Linked DNA regions of Homo sapiens: regions 1 and 2 are each linked to region 3. The links are contacts of gene promoters, found by promoter capture Hi-C in human tissues and cell types (Jung and others, 2019). All regions are on one chromosome and are shown on one strand. The core of a region is centred on a gene start or on the middle of the fragment in contact, and the rest is flanking DNA. Distances in the headings are between cores, read along the strand shown. Region 1 has its middle 20 kb from the start of TTR. Region 2 has its middle 8.1 kb from the start of SLC25A52. Region 3 holds the start of B4GALT6 (beta-1,4-galactosyltransferase 6).

The links. Contacts are between HindIII fragments. The study calls those that stand out against the background at their distance.
Region 1: a fragment that was not itself captured here is called in contact with the fragment with the promoter of B4GALT6 in region 3 in 2 of the 25 tissues and cell types used here (lymphoblastoid cells and mesendoderm cells).
Region 2: a contact is called between a fragment that was not itself captured here and the fragment with the promoter of B4GALT6 in region 3, in 2 of the 25 tissues and cell types used here (mesendoderm cells and neural progenitor cells).

The regions. Positions count from the first base shown.
Region 1 is chr18:31,610,957-31,613,730 of GRCh38, forward strand. No RefSeq gene overlaps it. Among named protein-coding and RNA genes, the nearest start is that of TTR, 20 kb to the left of the region's middle. The HindIII fragment of the contact is 5,182 bases long and covers 1-2,774 here.
Region 2 is chr18:31,751,299-31,754,231 of GRCh38, forward strand. No RefSeq gene overlaps it. Among named protein-coding and RNA genes, the nearest start is that of SLC25A52, 8.1 kb to the right of the region's middle. The HindIII fragment of the contact is 6,906 bases long and covers 1-2,933 here.
Region 3 is chr18:31,683,246-31,686,063 of GRCh38, forward strand. B4GALT6 (beta-1,4-galactosyltransferase 6) reads right to left here and starts at 1,336. Exons shown (of 9, transcript NM_004775.5): 1 at 1,067-1,336. The coding sequence starts at 1,181. RefSeq lists a silencer at 1,433-2,472. The HindIII fragment of the contact is 7,513 bases long and covers 1-2,818 here.

The DNA of each region.
Region 1 (2,774 bases), core at 193-2,692, 72 kb before region 3:
GCCGAAGGAGAGGCGGGTCACACGCAGGCTTTCTTAAATCAACACTTGTGTGGAGCTTCCCTCCAGGCTCAGCAGTCACCTACCTGCTGTTGCTGCCATTACTTTCACTCCCCAGGAGGGGGAGGGTGGTGGAACTGGGTATAATGCCTGGTGTGGAAGCGCAGTAACAGGCTTCAGGAGAGAATGCTGAGACTGACCTCAGAGCCTGGGCTGCTGCCTGAAGGACTTGTGCTGAGCTCAATGAACACTACTCTTGGCTTCATTAGGAAAGTGTATTTGGAAAAGATATAGGAATATATTTCTAAGTCTCTGGAGGACAGTGCCTAGCACACAGTCCGTGCTCAATAAATATTTGAGCAGGATGGAGCAGCATTCTTGGAAGGAAGGAATGAGAGGTTTGACTCTAGGTAGGCAAATAGCTCTCATCTAAACCCTTCCTGAGCCCATGGGCTTTATGAGGGTGTTGTTTTTCCTCTTGCTCAGATGTGAGAAATGGCATCACGACCCACCAGTATATGAGAAATTGACCATTTTGTTGGGAAACACTAGAAAACTACCAGCTCTTGTGGGTAACCTTGTTCAAATATCGACTGGCAGTTTCTGCATCTGTGGATTGATTTCAACAACTTAGTTATTCGGAATATTTAAAAATAGAACCAGTCTATTTAAAGTGTCCTTCTGACTAGGGCCAGAATCAAAACAACAAGGGTTGCCTCTTTCAAAACAACAACCAAAACCTGCTAAGAAGGTGTTGATTGAGGGAGTTGAAAGACAGACACCCTCTGCTCTTCTAGGCCTCTTCACAGAGCAGCAGCGAGGGATGGGAGAACTGCCTGGATCCAGGCATTGCTAGGGTAGTTGGGGCCTGCACAGGGAATGGGGGTCCTACATGGGGATTTGGGACCCTCACAGAGAGTCAGCGCCTTGCCTGGGATTCGTCTGTAAAAAGGTAAACACAAAAAAAGGGAAATTCACAAATGCTCCATAATGGACATTATAGCTACAACACCAGCATCCATCCCATTCATTCTTCTCCCACAGAGTAGGAATGAAAATGATCTCAGCCATAGCTCCATGAGGAGGGGAGTGGGAGTGAGGAACTCATTGGTCTAAATCAGTGAAGTCTCATCATCTTTGCCATGCACTTGGTTTAGGGACGGCAGGGATCTAAAATGGCCCAATCACAGGGAAACCCAGGGCTTCTCTTTTATGAATAGATAAAAACGTGGTAAGTCCCCGGGCAAAGGCAGCCCTGGCAGGTGCTGGCAGCCATCCTAGGACTGCGAGGGGAGCCATCCTCGGGAGAGGGGGCAGTTCCAGGAAGGGAGAAAGTCAGTCTTGATGACACTGCTGAGTGGCTGAAGCACTATTTCTGGAATGTTCACCACATTAACTAAAGAGTTTCCTTTTTAAAGTGAGTTTGATTCAATTATTTCGTTATTTATGACCAAGACTGTCTTAACTGATACAGCTATAAAAATATTCATCATCTTCTCTGCGGTAAGATAAAAGGAAATACAAAGAAATCAGTAATGGATCCAAAATAGGCTTTCTCCTCACACATAATGTTAAATTGAAAGAGTCAATCCTATGATATATTGAGAATAAAATTGTCAGAATTTTTTCAACGGTAATTATTTTATTATACTCTTCTTGAAAATAATTTAATGTTAAAGAAATTAAAATTATAGTAACCCATGGTTTTGCCAAAGTAGAATTTTTTTTATTAATAGATTATAAAAAATGTTTAAAGTTGCAATCATAACTGTGAGATTATTTTTTATGCTTTAATGATTTTATCATAACCAATTTCCCATGTTTCTCGTACTCTTTACAATCATTTTCATTTTTTGAAAAAATTACCATCTTGTTTATATACTATAATTAGACCACCCCCGTAATGTGATACATACTTAGTTTCAACTTAGTTTTTTGTATTTGTAATTAGTGCTGCAATTAACAGATTTACGAAGCATAAAGCTCTTTCCTTCTGTTGAATTTGAATTATTAAGTGAATGACCTAACATTTCTAGGAGTATATAACTCCTACACTAAGCAAGGCCTTGGGTATCAAACTACTTGGGAAGAATTCTTGGCTCCATTCTCGCAAATAGTACTATCTTGTTATTGTCTTGTACAGATTACATAAGCTTTCTTTCCTTGTTTGTTTTTTCTTTTTCCATTTGTAAAATGGGAATAATCATAGCACCTACTCCAGAGAGTTACTTTAGAAACCAGTTGTCATAATACATGTCAAGGGACTTAAAACAATGTATGGTACATAATAAGCTCTCAAGAGCTCTATTACTGTTTGGAGTAATATTAGCATATGAACACATTAATATAATAAGTTCTATGGCATTACGGCCTTACCAGTGCTGCTTATTGATAATATTTTGTCATTTTAACAGACATACCATTATATCTCATAATTATCTTAACTTTCATTTAATTATTGAAGGTGGTCATTTCTCCATGTCTTTTATTTTTTGTGTGTATTGTCTATGTCCTTTAATGGACGATTTTATAAAGTATGTCTAATAGTCCAAAGGGACTGGGACTTGTTAATTTGTATAGGTATGTGTATTAGTTTCCTATTGTTACCGTAACAAGTTACCACAAATTCAGTAGCTTAAAGCAACACAAAATGGTCATCTTACACCTCTGGAGGTGTAATTTTAGACTTCTGACCAGAAGTCTAAAATTAAAGTGTTGGCAGGGCTGTGTTCATTCTGGATGCTTTAGGGAGAATCAATATCCCTGCCTTTTCCAGC
Region 2 (2,933 bases), core at 350-2,849, 68 kb after region 3:
TCTAAAGCTTTAATGTGCTACACCTTACATTATTTTGATACATATCAGGAGGTACCATGCACATCTACCTTTCTTAGTCCTCTCTTTCTCTTCCCTTTTCCTCTTACCCTTCACTCTCATGCCCTTTCTTCCCATTTTCCCCTACTCCCAAAATGGATAAAGCTAAATTTTTAACATTCACCAATACAGACCCACAGGGGCCCTGAGTTCTTCTGGGCATGAGCTCTGAGAAAGAGACCAGAATTCCTGCTCTGATTCCTAAGATAACTGTTACAAAATCAAGAATTTGCCCGGGAGTGATGATGACCGTTAATGGGATAATGGTGGGAAGGGTACGAGCTGTAAAGAGGAAGGTGGAAGTTGATAAATGCGAACTTGGGACACAATTTGACTGAACTGTAGTGCAGATCCTTAGAAAGCAGGAGAGCACTGGTTACCTCTAGCAGGTTGCCGACGCTTCAGAAAGAACTAGGAGACAAAGCAAAGTTACTTTATAGAAATTTAATTTAACTAACTTCATGACTTTGCCTACAGCCAGCTGTAATCACATCCATTCATGTCCATGCAAAATTAAGGACATCCCAAGACTATTATCAAAAAGGTAAGAGATAGCAAGTGTTGGAGAGGACATGGAGTAACAGGAGCCCTTGCACGCCGATGGTGGAAATATTCAATTGGTACAGCCATTATGGAAAATAGCATGGAGCTTCCTCAAAAATGTAAAAATAGAACTGCCACACGATCCAGCAATTCCACTTCTGGGTGTATATCCAAAGTAAATGAAATCAGTATGTCAAAGAGAGATCTTCACTCCCATGTTCACTGAAGCATTATTCACAATAGCCAAGATATGGAATCAACCTAAGTGTCCATCAGCAGATGAATAATGTGGTATATATACACAATGGAATACTATTCAACCTCAAAAAAGAAGCAAATTCTGTCGTTTGGGACAACATAAGTGACCCTGGAAGACATTATGATAAGTGAAATAGGCCAAGCACAGAAAGGCAAGTTCCGCATGATCTCACTTATATGTAGAATCTAAAAAGCTGAGCTCATAGAAACAAAGAGTAGAATAGTGGCTACTGAGGCTGAGGTTGAGGGTTTGGGGGAGATGTTGGCTTAAGGACACGAAATTTAAGTTAGACAGGAGGAATAAGTTCAGAAGACTATCATACAACATGGCAATTATATGGTTGACTGTTGAACAACTTGCGGGTTGGGGCACCAACCCCACATGCAGTCAAACATCCATGTATAAATTTTGACTCTTCAAAAACGTAACTACTAATATCTCACTGTTGACCAGAAGCCTTGCCCATGACAAAAGGTTGATTAACACATATTTTGTATGTTACATGTGTGATATACTATATTCTTAAATAAAGTAAGCTAGAGAAAAGAAAATGTTATTAAGAATATTATAAGGAAGAAATGGAAGGGGATCATCATAAAGGTCTGTATCTTCCTCATTTTCATGTTGAGAAGGCTGAGAAGGAGGAGGAAGAGGAGGGGTTGGTCTTGCTGTCTCAGGGGTGACACAGGCAGAAGAAAATCTGCATGTAAGTGGACCCACACAGTTCGAACCTGTGTTGTTCAAGGGTGAACTGTAGTAATAACAATGTATTGTGTACTTGGAAATTGCTAAGAGAGAACATAAGTATTCCCACCACAAAAAATGATAAATGTGAGGTGATGAATATATTAATTAGTTTGATTTAATTATTTCACAATGTATATATCAAAATATCATGTTGCACATCATAAATGTATACAATTTTTATTTGTAAAGTAAAAAAAGTAAAAATAAATTTTAAAAAAAGAAGTTAAACACATTCAGCAAGTAATGATATTCTGTAAGATGGGGCTAAGTATTTCTTCGCATTTAAAAGGAGGATTCTCTGCAAAAAGCAAATGATAAATACAGGCAGTCCTTAAATACACATAATTACCAAAAATATACAATAAATTAGGAAATATTTATTTGCTCTGTTGAACTCCCTAAACTATCAATATTTAATAAATCAAAGCTAAATTTATTAGAACTTTCTGCCAAGAAAGAATACATCCTTGACAGTCTTGGCAGCACCTCACAAGGGGAATCAGAAATAGAATACTTATAGGGCACTGAGGTCTGAGTTCAAGTGTTTTAAAACAGGCCGTTCAAGGAATGTATATATTCTCTCCCTTGAAAGACCTGTTTTATATATAGAGAAATATATATATATTTCTATAATGTATCAATACAAATTACATGTACAATATATAAAAATTGTTTATATATTATACATACAATTACATATTTAATGATACATAAAAATGTTTATATGTAAATATATGTTTTACATAGTAGTTTAAGTTGGCAGTCACGGCAAAGCAAGGGTCTTGAATAGGTAAACTGTGGCTAAAAAGCAAGGGTTTGCCCAGATAAGCAACGTATTGTCTCCAATAAATTGGTCTGTGAATTTTGGAATTCAATGTATTGTCTCCAATTAATTGGTCTTGGCATTTCCTGAAGCACAGAGTAAAAGTACTTATTGGTGTGCAACCTTATATTTTCTGAATAGGTGTTGTCGGGAACAAAAAAAGTCATGTTCACATGGGTAGTTTTCTTAGTCCATTTTTTCTTGCTATAACAGAATTCCACAGACTGGGTAAACTATAAAGAAGAGATATTTATTTCTTACAGTTCTGGAGGCTGGGAAGGCCAGGGTTCAGGGGTTGCATCTGGTGAGGGCCTTCATGCTGATGGCAACTCTCTGCAGAGTCCCAAGGTGGCACAGGCCATCATATGGTGAGGAAGTAAGAGTGTGCCAGCTCAGGTCTCTCTTCCTCTTCTTATAAAGCCACCAGCCCCATCATGGATGCTTCTTCCTGATGGCCTTATCTAATTCTAATTACCTCCTGGTGTTTCTACCTCTTAATACTGT
Region 3 (2,818 bases), core at 86-2,585:
GCCCTGATCATTCCATCTGAAAATTCTGCAGGTGTTTTCACTCTGTAAGGGGCATTACATTTTTAGCTAACTCGGAACAAAGAGCACTGGCTCAAACGACCACAGTGTGTAAGGAGAAATGAGAGGAGATGCTCACTGTTACTAAGTAATTGAACATTAAATACGTAATAGCCAGGAAAAACTCAGAAAAGTTTTGGAAATATGACATATTTTAATATGCATGTGAAGTTCATAATTCTCATTCACTAGAATTAACGCCGCATTGGCTCCTTTTCAACAAATGGGGGACGAGGAATTCGGATATTTAATAAAGAAGTTAATTCAAGCAGTTTTACAAAAGTGTATTTTGCACCAAAGGCCAAAAAATGATAAACCGGTTAACATTTTAAACTACAAGTTCCCTTAGATAACGGTTATTTTAATCACTATTTTCTCAGAAGTCATCCTAACAGGTAGCAAAGGCAACGTACCCTTGAAAATAACACCCAAGCAGACTAAAATAATGGAGCATTGTTTTTACAAGACAACTCATCGCCTTAAAATTCCCCAAGTATGGCACAAAAAGAATGGGGTCCACTGACCCCATTCTAAAAAAGCGACCTAGGACCCTAGAAAACACACATTGTTGGACTCAATCACATTCCCTGCTGCTGGCTCCTCCATATTTTTACAACCAGTTATTATACCCGAGAGTGTTTGAATAAAACTACGATTAAGCACTCAGTTTAGGCTTAAAGACTTAACATTAAATGGATAAAGCTGTCATGAACACTCAAGAAAGCGACTAGGGCATCCCGGGCCATCACACTAATTTTGCTACGTCTATTTAATGCAATCTTTTACGTTATTAACAAACATGCATTAACAAAATGCATGCATTAACAAAACTCACATACCAAAGCCATGCCCTGAAGCAGTTTGACACGTCTGAAATAACATTTAAAACAAAACGCTTTTCTGCGGGCCCCTGTTTGAACAGCTTCCAAATCCCAGAAGTAACATCGGATAACAGCCTGCGCTGGCTGTGGTGTGACCAGGGGAAGCGAGGGTGTGTCTCGGTGCTTACCGATGCCTGGGGCCACATAGATGAAGTACAGACAGGACGAAGAGAGGGAGAAGAAGAAGATGAAGGCGAGGAGAGAGCGATTGGAAACCCGCATCATCCGCCTGAGCACAGACATCTTCCTCTTCCCTGCCAGCAGCCCAGGCTGCGCTCTCAGGCCGGACTCGGGGCCACTGTCCAGGCCCTAAACTTCCATAAATGTGCTGAGAACCCCGAGACTGCAGCGGGGTCCGCGCGGGGAGGCTCTGGGGAGAGGGCCCGAGCGGAAAAGAGGAAATGGGAGGGAGCGGACGGAATGAATGGGAGGCCAGAGAGTCGGGGGAGGGGAGGCGCGGAGGCCGAGGGACAAGAGGTGGAGGGGGGAGAGGGGACTGGGGGCTAGGGGCCCGGGGACGGCAGGACGGAAGAAAGCCGGGGAAGGGCGAGGAGGAGCGTTTTCTCCGCCAAGCAGCGGCGGGAGGAGGGGCTGCAGGTGGGAGGAGGCGCAGGCTGCGCGCCGCGGCGCCCCTGCGGAGAGGGGCAGCTAACTGCAGCACGCCCGGCTCCGCTGCCCGCGCCCGGCGGGGTCCCGCCGCGAAGCCCCGTGCTTAAGGTCCGGGCCGCCCGCGTCCGCTCGGCAGGCCCTGCGCCGCCTCCTACTCCGGGCCGCGGCGTCTCCTGCCTGCGCGGGGCTAGCGTGGGCGCCGGGGCCGCAACCAGCGCGCGCCACGCGCGGGGGCCCGCGGGGGCCCTCGGGGCCGAGGAGCTGGGCGCTCGCCTGCACCGAGCCGCCTCCTCATGCCGCGCCGGGCCCCGGCGCCCCGCGGCCGCCGCGGGAGCTGAGCACAGGCCAGGGCGGCGTCCCGGCCAGCGACGAACGCGCTCCGACTCCGGCCGCCGCCAGCTGCCTGCCTGGCCGCAAGGGCGGCAGCGGCATTACCGCCGCGCGCCCGGGGTGAGGCGCCCCCGCCGGGCCCGCGGACACCAGGCGAAGAGCAACCGGGCGACGCGCGCTGCGGGCAGAGCCGGGGAGCCGGAAGAGCAGAGGCCGAGCGCCGTCGGAGCCGCGTCTGGTTGGAGAAAGAGGCGGACGTGAAGGGGCGGGGGAGCCGCGGAGGAAAACCGGGACCGGCGGGAACGTCTCGAGACCCCTGCGCGCTTCGCGCGCTCGCTCGGAACTCGGCAGGCGGCGCTGCGCCGGGCCCCGAGGAAACCTGGAGGTCCCCGCCCTCCCCGCGCCCGAAACACCGCGCGTCCTGATAGGCCCGCGCCCAGCAGCCCCCTCCCCGCGCCCGCCGCACCGGGGCCCCACCGCCTCCTGCGTCACCGCCGCCCCCGCCCGCCCGGGGACCCCGCGGTGACCGCGCTGCTGGGGGTTGAGGGACGCGTTGCGAGCCCCGGATACATTGTACCCTGGGGGTACATAATGAAGGATGCTGTACCTGAAAGGAAAAGGGCATCTCCAAAAGGGGACTTCGCGGGTGGAATTTCCTTCCAAAATCCTCGAGGAACAAGGTGTATTTCCGACCTGGATTAATGAATCCCCCCTCCTATCCCGCACTTCCTGTGGAAACAGTGTCAGGATGTGGCGCGGACCTATGTGCGTCCCTTATACCAGGACTTGCCTTCAACGCTGAAGGTGAACCCTGGGTCATCCTCGCTGTATTCAGGCGGCGCTGCAAAGGCTTCTGGGCAGCCAATAGGCCCTTGAGCGCCTCAGCCCCATCTTGCTTCAGTAGGCAAACGGACGGGTGTCTTCATCCACCTCCTAGGCCG